Regions from separate parts of the Homo sapiens genome. Here regions 1, 3 and 4 are each linked to region 2. Evidence: promoter capture Hi-C in 16 types of primary human blood cells and fetal thymus (Javierre and others, 2016). All regions are on one chromosome and are shown on one strand. The core of a region is centred on a gene start or on the middle of the fragment in contact, and the rest is flanking DNA. Distances in the headings are between cores, read along the strand shown.

Region 1 (2,725 bases), core at 154-2,653, 370 kb after region 2:
GAAAGGAAGCCACTTGGAGGAAAATCTACGCACACCAGCTCTCAGCTGGCACCAGTTGCCACACATGTCAGTGATGCCTTCATGGATATTCCTTGGCTGAGTTCTCAGGGGATTGCAGCCACCTAAGAGACCCTAGGAGGGCCCCTCTGAGCCTTGTCCAAGTTGTAGAATTATGAGCCAATAAATGGTGGTTGTCATCTTAAGCCTCTAAATTTGAGTTAGTTTATGTAGTAATAGATAACCGAAATTCCTTCTTTCTAGAGAATATTTTTCCTTTCAATTGCAGGGACTTTCCACAGGATGGGAACCTCATCCAATTTGATCATTATATCCTCAGCCCCTAACAGCCCATAATAGGTTTCTAATAAATATTTGTGGAATTCATAACACAAAATTATATACTACAGCGTCTATACTGTATTATGATGCTCTATTTCCTGGCTATTTTTCTCCCTTTCAGGCCATGAGCTCCCTAGCTTTGAAGCTTCCATTTATTGTTGATGAATGGTTGACAAAGTTCTAAGAGATTTATATATGTAACAGTATATTAAATGGAACTTTGACTATTGTCTATGGAATTTTGGTTGACTGAAAGCTGAGAACAGAGCGACAAATACTCCTGCATTCTGAAGATGGGTACTAGACACATTTGCAGCACATGCCAAAAAATGACTAACATATTTTCAGATGCTTTAGTCCATTCTTCACTTCTACTTAAGAGAAAGACGGAGAGGAAATAGGAATTTGTGATTAGGGTCCAAAAGCTAAAGCCCAGAGAGTCTGAGTTCAAGTTTCCTCTCTGCTACTACTAGCTGCAAGATCTTGGCTAAATTACTTAGCTCTGTACTTTCATTTACTTACCTATGAAGTGGGGTGACTATAGCATCTACCTCATAGGGATGCTGTGAGGATTAAATGCGTTATTATATATGGACCAGGCAGTTCTACATCTAGAATTCTTAGAGCAGTATTTAGCTCATAGTGAGGGCCTATAAGTGTCAGCACTGTCATCCTCAGTACTGTCAGAGTGAGTAAACATCTCTTTGAAAACAATGGGCTACCTGGTGGAGGGAGATACATTTCCTAGCAGAAAAACTCAAGTTTGGGGTGATTAGCCCGAAGGGGACTGATATTTCACTCATCACTCCACCTCACCCTCTAGCTGAATGATCGTGGAACTGAAGAAACACCTAGACACTTCCATAGCTGCTGTGGGAGTAGACATGGTGAGAGAATTCTGGGCAAAATTAATCCGCATCCTCTGGCACATGGAGGTACTGAAACTGCAAAAGTCCAAAGGAGAAGGTTAGCAGAATGAGGAGAAAGGCTGAGGTGGGCATGTCACACACTGTCAGGATTGGAGGGGTGAGGATGCTGAGTTTCCCACTAGCTAAGTGGACGCTATGGATGGGCAGTCTTAAGAGTAGAGGCCTCGTGATAGGGCTATGCCCAAGAGGACGGCCTTTCCAAGGGCAATCTCAGCCACATGGGTAGAGGTGGGATTGGGGAGGAGGTGCTTCCATGGAGGTAGAGGAAGGCACTGAAGTGCCTGTGGGTGACAGTCAGGGTTTGGCCATCTGCCACACACAGGGCCTCATGCAGATCTTCACAGTGCAGCTAAGTCAATTGACCATTTTAGTCCTTGCTATAAACTAAATATTTGTGTCCCCTAAATTCATATGTTGAAACCTAATGCCTAGTGCTATGGTATTAGGAGATGGGGCCTTTGAGGGATAATTAAGTCATGAGGGCAGAACCTTTATAAATGAGATTAGTGCGCTTTTTAAAGAGGCCTTGGGAGCTCCCTTACCACTTCTGCCATGTGAGGTTACGGTGAGAATATAGCTCTCTGTGAACCAGGAAGAGGCCCTTACCACACACCAAATCTGCCAGTGACTTGATCTTGGACTTCCCCGCCTCCAGGACTGTGAGAAATAAATTCTCTGTTGTTTATAAGACACCAGTTTATGGTGTTTTGTTATAGCAGTCTGAACTGTCTAAGACCACCCTTTACCTTTCCTCCTTCCTTCTGCTGCAGTCCTGGAGAGGCCAGAGGAAGTGGAGGAGGGACTGAGAGTAAGGAAAAGCCCCCCGCTTCCCAACTGCAGGTTACTGAGCCTGGTGTAGGCCTGAGCTGGGGAAAGAGAGAGCCTTTGAATTGGATGAGAAATTGAAGTTTTAGTGTTAGGAGAATCTGAACTTTATTGATTTCTGAGAATCAAACTTTTCTAATGTCTAAAAAGTGACTGATAATGCTCTGAGCTCAGCCAAGATAGCACTGCTGGAGGAGTTGGGGTGCAAGGTGAGTGGGCTGAAAGCTTATGGTTGAGAATAATGTCTGTCACAGCAATATATTCATTTATATTGACATCATCTCATTTTATCTTCACAACAGCTCTGTATTAGTCTGTTTTCACACTGATGATAAAGACATGCGAGACTGGGCAATTTACAAAAGAAAGAGGTTTAATGCACTTATAGTTTCACATGGCTAGGGAGGCCTCAAATCATGGTGGAAGCTGAAAGGCACGTCTCACGTGCTGGCAGATGAGAGAGAGAGAGAGAGAGAGAGAGAGAGAGAGAGAGAGAGAGAGAGTGTGTGCAGGGAAACTCCTATTTTTAAAACCATCAAATCTCAGGAGACATATACACTATCATGAGACCAGCACAGGAAAGACTTGCCCCCATGATTCGATTATCTCCCTCCCACAACAGATGGGAGTTA
Region 2 (2,700 bases), core at 83-2,582:
CAGAAGGTGCGAAAGAAGCTCTGACCCCCTCCCTCCCCCAAATCTCCCCCTTCCCAAATGAAATGCACAGTTCAGCCAGCTTCTTAACTACACTACACTCCTGCTACTGGCTGCCAAGAGGCTCAAAAAATCCACCTTCACTTTTCAGTCAGAAGAGGCAGAAGTGGATGTGAGAGAAAGAGAGACACAGAGAGACAGAGAGCCAAAGAGGGCAAGAGACTTGACTTTAAGAGACTCCTGTACTGACAACTCCATGCAGTTCGGAACCAGAACGACTACGGCTGAACCAGGGTTCATGGGGACATGGCAAAACGCTGATACTAACCTCTTATTCAGAATGTCCCAACAGGTAAGTTACTTTCTTTCTTGATTTTTTTTTTCTTTTTTTTAAGAAACCTTGAATTGTTATGGGCACTTTTGTTTCTGGTGTTTTTCTTTCTAAATACTTTTTAAAATGTGGTCACTTCCTAGTTAGGCTCTTGTTTTGTCATAACTGTGTTACTGGAATGTGCAGGGTTACTTCATGGTTTCCCTAAGGGCGTCTTAAAAGAAAAAGGGGAAAGGATACCGAAGTAAAAGAAAGCAGAGACATTGTTGAAAAGTTTCACAGTACAATCTGGGTCAGGGGAAGACTTAATTTATTTCTTTGTTTTCTGTTGAGAATGAAAAAAGCCACCTCCCAACAAATGTATCTATCAATATGAATCACTTCGTCCAAAGTGTTTGCTCTCTCGGAGTAGGTTCCGCAACCTAAAAAACAGTCATCAAATCTCGGGGCCCCTCAGAACAGCCCTACTGACTTCATGTGGCTGGAGGCAGCTTCGTTCAGACCTGAGAAGAGAGACGAGGCTGTGCAGGCTTGGCTGCCAGCGCCGAGGGTTGCTGGAGGAGTCGGCGTGCGTGGCGGGCTGTGCTGCTCGGTCCTCGCTCCTCCGCTCCGCTCCTCCTTGCCAGCCAGCCCTCTGCGCCCGCCCCTGCATTCCCTTCGCCGGCTCCGGCCCGCTCTCCCGCCCGCCCGCCGGCCCGCCGGCGCACTCACTCGGGCGCAGCCTCGGCGTCTTCCCCAGAGCCGCTCCTCCGTCCCGGCCGCGCTGGAGGCGTTCGGCTTGCTGGCTCTGCTGGGAAAGCCGACGTGGTAGCGCGAGGCCATCGGTTACTGATAATTAATCACCGGAGCCGGCGGCTCGTACCATGCGCTCCGTGATACGCGCCCTGTGCGCCGGTCTCCTCTTGCACAATTGCTGGCTCCTTGGCTCCGCGGGGGAGCGAGGGTGAGAGGAAGCGAAGGGGACACAACCCAGAAACTTTCATCTTGGATTGTGCTCAAGTGAGGGAGGGAAGTTCCCTGGTGCCTCCCTCCTAGACACGTCTTGCTTTTCCAAAGCCTACACCAAACCCACACAAAGCAAGTTAGTTTGATATTATCATCCACACACAAAGCAAGTTAGTTTGATATTATCATCCACACAGCACGAAAGTACTATTGACAAATATACTTGGATTTTAAGTTGACGGCGGTTATTAAGAAATGTTGTGCCACTCAAGAGGAAAAAAATACTGCAACTGCTTTTTTTTTTTTTTTTTTTAAAAAGCTTTTGTTTGTAAGAGTTCACGAAAATTAAATACTTTGAGTTAGATATTTAAAGTTGTTGATAATAAAAAAAAAACAATTTGCCAGGCTATAAACTACTACAAGTTTAGAAATACATTTGCAAGCGATAATACCTACAACCAGGGTTTTGTAGCATTTAGCTAGAGAACAGTTTTAGCACACAATTCTAAATAGGATAAATGCATTTGAATAAGGTATATTTTGACATATCCTGTAGAGGGACCCTGATTACTGCTGATACAGTAAGCTGGGATTTAAATGCAATCAACATCAACCCAATAAGTAACTCTTCATGTGCAATTTCCCATTCTTTCAAGTGAAAAGTTCATTTCCACACAGAGATGCTCCTTGTCACTGCAGAGCGCTGTGAGAGGTGTTTTCCGCGACGCATCCCTGCCTGGGTGGCTCTCGCGTGTTGGAATGCAGTGTTTTCGCTAACCTTAGTACCAAATAACTTGTGCTTCACTTTTAAAACTAGATGTCACCTTCAGGGTTTTCCTTGAGTTAGTGGAGGTCGTGTGTGTGTGTGTGCGTGTGTGTGTGTGTGTTAGAAGGGAAGATTGGCTTACGTCTCCCTCTAGCTAGAAAAGAGTTAATAAAACCAGATAGAGATAATGATCAATTGATAAATGGCTATTGAACCACATAGATGGTGTTAGATTGCTTATTTGGCACTAGCCCATTTCCAAGTAGATTTGAATCTAAGGAGATTTTGTCATGGAAAACATTTTAACTAAAAAACAAATAAAGTAATATAAATGATGGGTCAGAATTAGGACAATTTATGATGTCTTTGATCCAGCTGTCTGACTGTGTGGATATTTTGTGTGTACCTGTGTGTGCATATATGTGTAATGGTGAGCATCAGTGATTATATGGAGAGAATAGAAATATAGGGAACTAATTTATGCTTAATGGATGCTATTAAAACTGTATAATATTATGCTATTTATGAAATAGAGTAGTACAACAAAAGGAGAGAAATCACAGTTTTAAATATGTTTTCTTTTTTTTTTGGTTTTGATGTAGTTAGCAATCACTCCTATCCCCCCAACCCACCTTTTTCTGTCATGGTCACTGAATGTTTA
Region 3 (2,708 bases), core at 106-2,605, 310 kb after region 2:
CAAACAGGAAGGATAAAGAGATCAGCGTTTTAGTCATGGAGCTCATCTTTGCCCATTCCTACTCATTTGCTTTTTCATAGGAGTTTTTTGTTGTTAAACAGTTTCTCTCAAGCCACATGCATTCTATGCTGGCTGAAAATTAATAGTGATGTAGATGTTCATCCGACAAGCTTTTCCCCATGTGATTGGTTTTAGCCAGAGTTTATCACAGGTACAAAATTAGGCGGTATGACTGTGCATGTTCTCTAGCTGATGTTGAAACTTGTACTGTCTTGATCATTTAAAACTATGTTTTTGTAAATATCAGGTTTAGTCCGCTTTCGGGAATATCTGCATGCTATGGAAAGAGAGAAAAAAAGGATAGATAATGAGGAATTTGGTTTAAAAGTGTGATAAAAATCCTTGGCATTCTTTGTTCTGATATTAATTGTATTTAAATAAGTCAACCCAATGTAACTCATTCCAGATCTTAGTCCAGCTGCCCTGTTCAGCCTGATGCCTTTTAAAGGTTTAAAGGTGTTAATGTTTTCCTTTTCAACATGGCAAACATTTTTTAAAACCTTTTTGGCACAATGGTGCCACTGTCCTCATAGTGTTATTTCTTTGGTCATGAATTTTCAGGCCCTTCCAGTAAGAGGAGAAAGGCACTTAACTGGTTAACAGCCCCATTATTATACATTGCTCTAAGGAAAAAAAAAAAAAAAAAACTTTGAATATATCAAGAATGGGCTATTCCAGAGGCTTCTCCTCAGGAGAAACTATGCACTAGGTTCCCACCAAATACAATGTGACCTTTTTTTCCCCTTTCTCTGTACACACCCCAGATATGTGCCAAGCAAATGAGAATGAGGGCCGTTGACAATTAAAGCATAAAGAAGCTAGTCACCAGATTGAGATGGACATGCTGCTAACTGCTGACAGCTTGACCTGAGCAGTCCTAACTTGTATCTGGTCTGTTAGCATTGGGTTAGATTGACTAACAGAGTAAATAAAATTCACCTGTCATAAGACACGCTACATCTGCTATCATCAAGAAACAAATCATCCAGAAGAAACTTTTTTTCATCCTGTGGTCACACCCTTTTCTTAAGAGCTTCTTTTTTAAAATTATGACAAACGAATTTCATTCTTTAAAATCACTTATCTTCTCCCAAACTTGAAGTATTTAAATTAGGTGGTTTTGCTTTTCCCTCTCATTGTTTATTTTTTGGGGATGGATCTAAATGAGTAAGATGAGCAATAAAAGATACCAGAAAGACTGGAGGGATCACAGTGTTTTCATCAGAACTAAGTAGAGGGTCGGTTCCTGCCCTGGTTTTGGGGTAGCTAGAAAAGGAAATCATGAATGCACTGGAAATGTTGGCTCGAGAGAAAAGACTGGCATAGCTCTGCCTCGCAGTGGGTGAGAGCGTATTGATCGTAGGGACCTGCAGAGTTCCTATGACCAGGTGAGTCGGCTCTGAGGAAGGGGTTAGGAAAGCAAGTACAGCTGCATGAAATAGCTGAAGTTCCTTTGGGGTCAGGAAGAGCCGACAATTGTGGGGTTTTGGTTGCTTTTGCTTTGTTTTTGAGTGGGAAGTGTTGCTGGAATCCCCTGAGAACCGAAAGATGCCAGGGGTCAGCAAGGCTATAGAAAAGGCCAGTGGTAACACCTCGTTTTCATCCTAACAGAGGAGTAGGTGCGAATGGCACCAGCATGGATCGTTCCTTTCTTGATCATTACTCATGCTTGCCACTGTAGCAACACAACAAAGCCATGATTGTAATTAATACTAGGCTAAAGACCTTGATCAAAATGGGAGCTCATTTACTGTTCTATGAGGTATGTAAGTAACTTCTCTTCACATTTTCCCTCAGAGATAAACCACACGTGGTAGTCTTGTTTGCGTTAGTACTAAGGTCATGTTTGATCTGTCCCAGACGAGTCGCATATTTCCTGTAGCTGGAGTGTTGCTCACCATAAATGGTCATTTTCAAAAAGTATTGTGTAATTCCAGCTGTACAACTGACCAGTGAGTTATCTGTCATCACTGTTGCCCACATACCCGTCCTTCCTTGTGTAGTTTCATCATCCTCATCCTTCCCACATCTTGCGCAAAATGATTTTCTGTGCTCATTCGGCAATAACTATGTTATTCGGCATACTGTCTTTTTGGCATTTGTTGAAAAATCCAAATGCTTTTAATCCAAAAGATTAATCCAAATCTTTTTTAATCCAAATGATTTTAATCCAAATCCAAATAACAGGAGGTTAAAAAAAAAAAAAAAACTAAGCATTTTTACATGTACACTGAATTGGATCAGCATTATTGTTCATTATAATGCTATATATATTTTTGGAGCAACATACTATAGTTGTCATAAAACTATCTTTATTCTTCTCCTCTAAAGTGCTGTTGTAAATTCATTTGACCTTTACTGCAGGAAAAAAAAAAATCTTTTTTATATAGGATATGAAGACCAAGGCTCAGTCTGTAACAAATAGTGGACCATTACAAAAGAGGAAAGAAAAAAGCCAGGGCTGAGCAGCAAGAAGCTTCAGTTCAATTTCACCTCGTATCTTTCTAATAACATACTTGTCACTTTATTACCTTCCAGTAATGTGAACGCTGCTGACAAGACTGTCACACTAACAGCAGACAACACCCTCTCTGCTTCAGCCCAGCTCTCCTGGCTACTTATTGCCCTGGCCCTGAAGGGACACAAAC
Region 4 (2,700 bases), core at 110-2,609, 480 kb after region 2:
GGCATGGCCCCCTCGCTTTTCCAGGGGTTTTGCTCAGTGAAGTTCTTCATTTGCCATTTCTGCTCTCAGACTTGTGATTTCACTGAAACCACTCATCTCCCCACAGACACTGGTTTGGCTATATAATGGTTGAAGGCATGTCTGGATGTTTTAATGATGTGACCATACTGCATTGTGACATGATGTGGTCCAGAGATACTGTGGCCAGAACCAACCTGGCTGGCTGAGCCATGTCTAAATCACAGCAAGTTTGTCCAGGGTTGAGGGTCCAGCTTGGAGTGTCACAAGTGTTCTGCCACAGTCTTTCTGAATCTGTTCCTCCTCATTAGGATTAAGATGCTGGAGGACAGGACCCAGGACTCACAATTCTGTTCTATTTCCCTTTCCCTGCTACCCTCCCCCACGGTACTGGAACACTCCTGGGCACGTACGCGAGTCTCAATAAATGCTTGGTGGATAAACTCACATTCCTGGTGACTAGTCAAAGATGTGTCACTTATTATGAAGTGTGCCAAAAAAGTCACTCACTAACTTGTCCAGTAAGCACTTTAGCAATTTAATCTGTGAACCAATTACTTCAGTACAGTTTCCAGAAATAGAGTTGTTCATCCTTTGAAGCAGGTTAATTGTCAACTGATATTTTATCTTTGTTGATTCATCTGACGGACAATTAGGGCTTCTAAAGTGTCAGGCACGGTGCTAGGCACAGAGGAGCACAGAGAAAATCATAACACTTCCCACGAGGTCTCAGAGGGGAGTGGGCTAGACAGTCGTGTCAGCAATGCACCCAGGTCTCTGAAGGGCTGCATCAAAGCTCTGTGGGCCAGCGGGGAAAGAGTGATTCAAGGCAGGGAGGAGTTGTGGGGTTGTGAGGTTAGATTGGCTGCTGGAGTCTCCTTCCTTAGACATTCTAAGCTGACTGCTGGCCTGGTTCCACCAAGGGGATCCGGGTGCATGACTCTGTTTGCCTTCCCCACTAGATGGGCTCACTGATGAGAGCACACTGTTTTCTGGAGCTTGTCCACATATGCTCCAAGTTGGCTTTTTCAAGAAGCAGGATAAAGAAGAACATTAAGGAGAGTCAGAATGAGGTTCAGGAAGCCTAAAGCCCAGGTCTCCTCTCTGAGGGAAGCTGGTGGCTCTAGCCTTCTTCATTCCCCAAAGACTTTGGAGGGATGGGGTGAGGTGTTGCAGAATATCGGGGAAGGACTGTCTACAAGATGCTCACTGGTTAAGACACTCTGAGGGTGGAACACTACAACACAACTTTCTTCACAAAAAAATCAATTTAGGAAATAGCATCAATGTAGTTTTGGAAGCATCTTACATTCTCATTCAAATGTAATGGTTTTATGGAGTCCTATGTGGAGGGTGGAGGGCATGCATATTCTTGGAACTTAGATGACCCATTTATGTGAATACTGGAACAGCACTGAGAAAAATGCCACTGCTCTGTAGCCTCTAAAGGGTTAACATCAGGGCATATTTGAAACTTGGCAGCCAAAGGCAGCTGTGTGACCTTTTATTGTGAAATCAGATTGGAAGCTGTAGCACAAAGCAGGGGGTGGAGAGTGGAGCCAATGGCCCTGAAGACTGCAGGAGCGGGACCCTCACACCCTGTGGTTAGTGACTGAGTTTGAAAAGCAAGCCAGAATGAAGCCTGTATCTCCAAGGGGCATTTCCAAACCAGTAATTGAAGACTTTTTACAAATTAAATTTGTATTTCTTGCTGTCCTTTAATTTTTAGTATGTACTAACAATACAGATTTGCTAAATCTGGAAGTTGGTAAGCAAGCATGTAATCATTGGTAACTCCTTATCCAAGAATCTCACTGAATATTTCATATGCTGCCTCATTAATGCCTGTCCCTGCCCATTGATCTCTGGCAACTCTAGGGTATTGCTTACTCCTATTTTACAGATGCAGAAGATGAGGGAGAGAAAATTAAATGCCTTCATGGAGAATTAATCATGCAACAGAACCAAGAGCTCTAAGTGTTCTGGCTTCCAGTTCTTGGCCTTGACAGTGAAACTGAGCTTTTTTTTTTTCTCCTAGGAACAGCTAGAACTTTCACTTTATGGGGCTGACAAAGAAAATCACCATTTGCTGAAAAGGTAGTGAAATGCCTACTTCTTAGCTCTCTGGTCAAGGCAAGTTACTTGAAAGTGCTTAAAGGAGGTTGATGTAAGACAGATCCAACCGTTTTGTCTCAATTGCAGTGGTGGCTCAGCCACAACTAACCAAAAAAAGTGGGGGAGCAAAATCTAAACCTATGACTGAACTGAATTCCCTGTTTCTTTGATTGAATTTACTCTTCTTTAAAATGTTACTGAATTTACTGGCTAATTAATTACAAGAGTTGAACTGGTGGTGAAACTTCCGTGGACGACTTGTGTCCATGCCTTTCATGTGTTTGGCTTAAAAAATCTATACAATGCATAGAGCTGGGTGGGAGGTAAAGTGAGTCAAAGAGAATGCTTTCCAAGCCATATGCTTGCCCTCCAAGGTGACCCCTAGCTACCTCCAAGCTCTCAGACAGTGGAAGGCCATAAAGAGTGAAGAGGTGAATTCTGAGAGTGTTAGAAAAAGCTGGGAGATTGCCTGATTCCTGTTGAACTTCAGACCCAAAATGTATGGCATAAGCAAGAAACTAGAAATTGGCCTAGGAGGCAGTGGTAATCCTTTTTGGTCAATTAAGC

The links. Contacts are between HindIII fragments. The CHiCAGO score rates a contact against its expected background, and 5 or more counts as called.
Region 1: a contact is called between a fragment that was not itself captured here and the fragment with the promoter of BNC2-AS1 in region 2, in 1 of 17 cell types (endothelial precursors). The highest score is 7.0, in endothelial precursors.
Region 3: a contact is called between a fragment that was not itself captured here and the fragment with the promoter of BNC2-AS1 in region 2, in 1 of 17 cell types (endothelial precursors). The highest score is 5.3, in endothelial precursors.
Region 4: a fragment that was not itself captured here is called in contact with the fragment with the promoter of BNC2-AS1 in region 2 in 1 of 17 cell types (endothelial precursors); the score reaches 6.9 in endothelial precursors.

What each region holds. Positions count from the first base shown.
Region 1 is chr9:16,359,176-16,361,900 of GRCh38, reverse strand. No RefSeq gene overlaps it. Among named protein-coding and RNA genes, the nearest start is that of LINC03041, 84 kb to the right of the region's middle. The HindIII fragment of the contact is 1,834 bases long and covers 487-2,320 here.
Region 2 is chr9:16,725,446-16,728,145 of GRCh38, reverse strand. BNC2-AS1 (BNC2 antisense RNA 1) reads right to left here and starts at 1,332. Exons shown (of 3, transcript NR_151723.1): 1 at 1,191-1,332; 2 at 1,040-1,115; 3 at 622-831. It overlaps BNC2 (basonuclin zinc finger protein 2), which reads left to right. Exons shown (of 7, transcript NM_017637.6): 3 at 149-349. RefSeq lists an enhancer at 1,248-1,749. The HindIII fragment of the contact is 1,636 bases long and covers 1-1,594 here.
Region 3 is chr9:16,412,918-16,415,625 of GRCh38, reverse strand. It overlaps BNC2 (basonuclin zinc finger protein 2), which reads left to right. Exons shown (of 7, transcript NM_017637.6): 7 at 1-2,708. LOC124902125 (a long non-coding RNA gene) reads right to left here. Exons shown (of 3, transcript XR_007061425.1): 3 at 250-337. Among named protein-coding and RNA genes, the nearest start is that of LINC03041, 140 kb to the right of the region's middle. The HindIII fragment of the contact is 2,366 bases long and covers 173-2,538 here.
Region 4 is chr9:16,245,146-16,247,845 of GRCh38, reverse strand. All of the region lies in intron 1 of LINC03041 (long intergenic non-protein coding RNA 3041), which reads left to right. Among named protein-coding and RNA genes, the nearest start is that of LINC03041, 30 kb to the left of the region's middle. The HindIII fragment of the contact is 5,400 bases long and covers 1-2,700 here.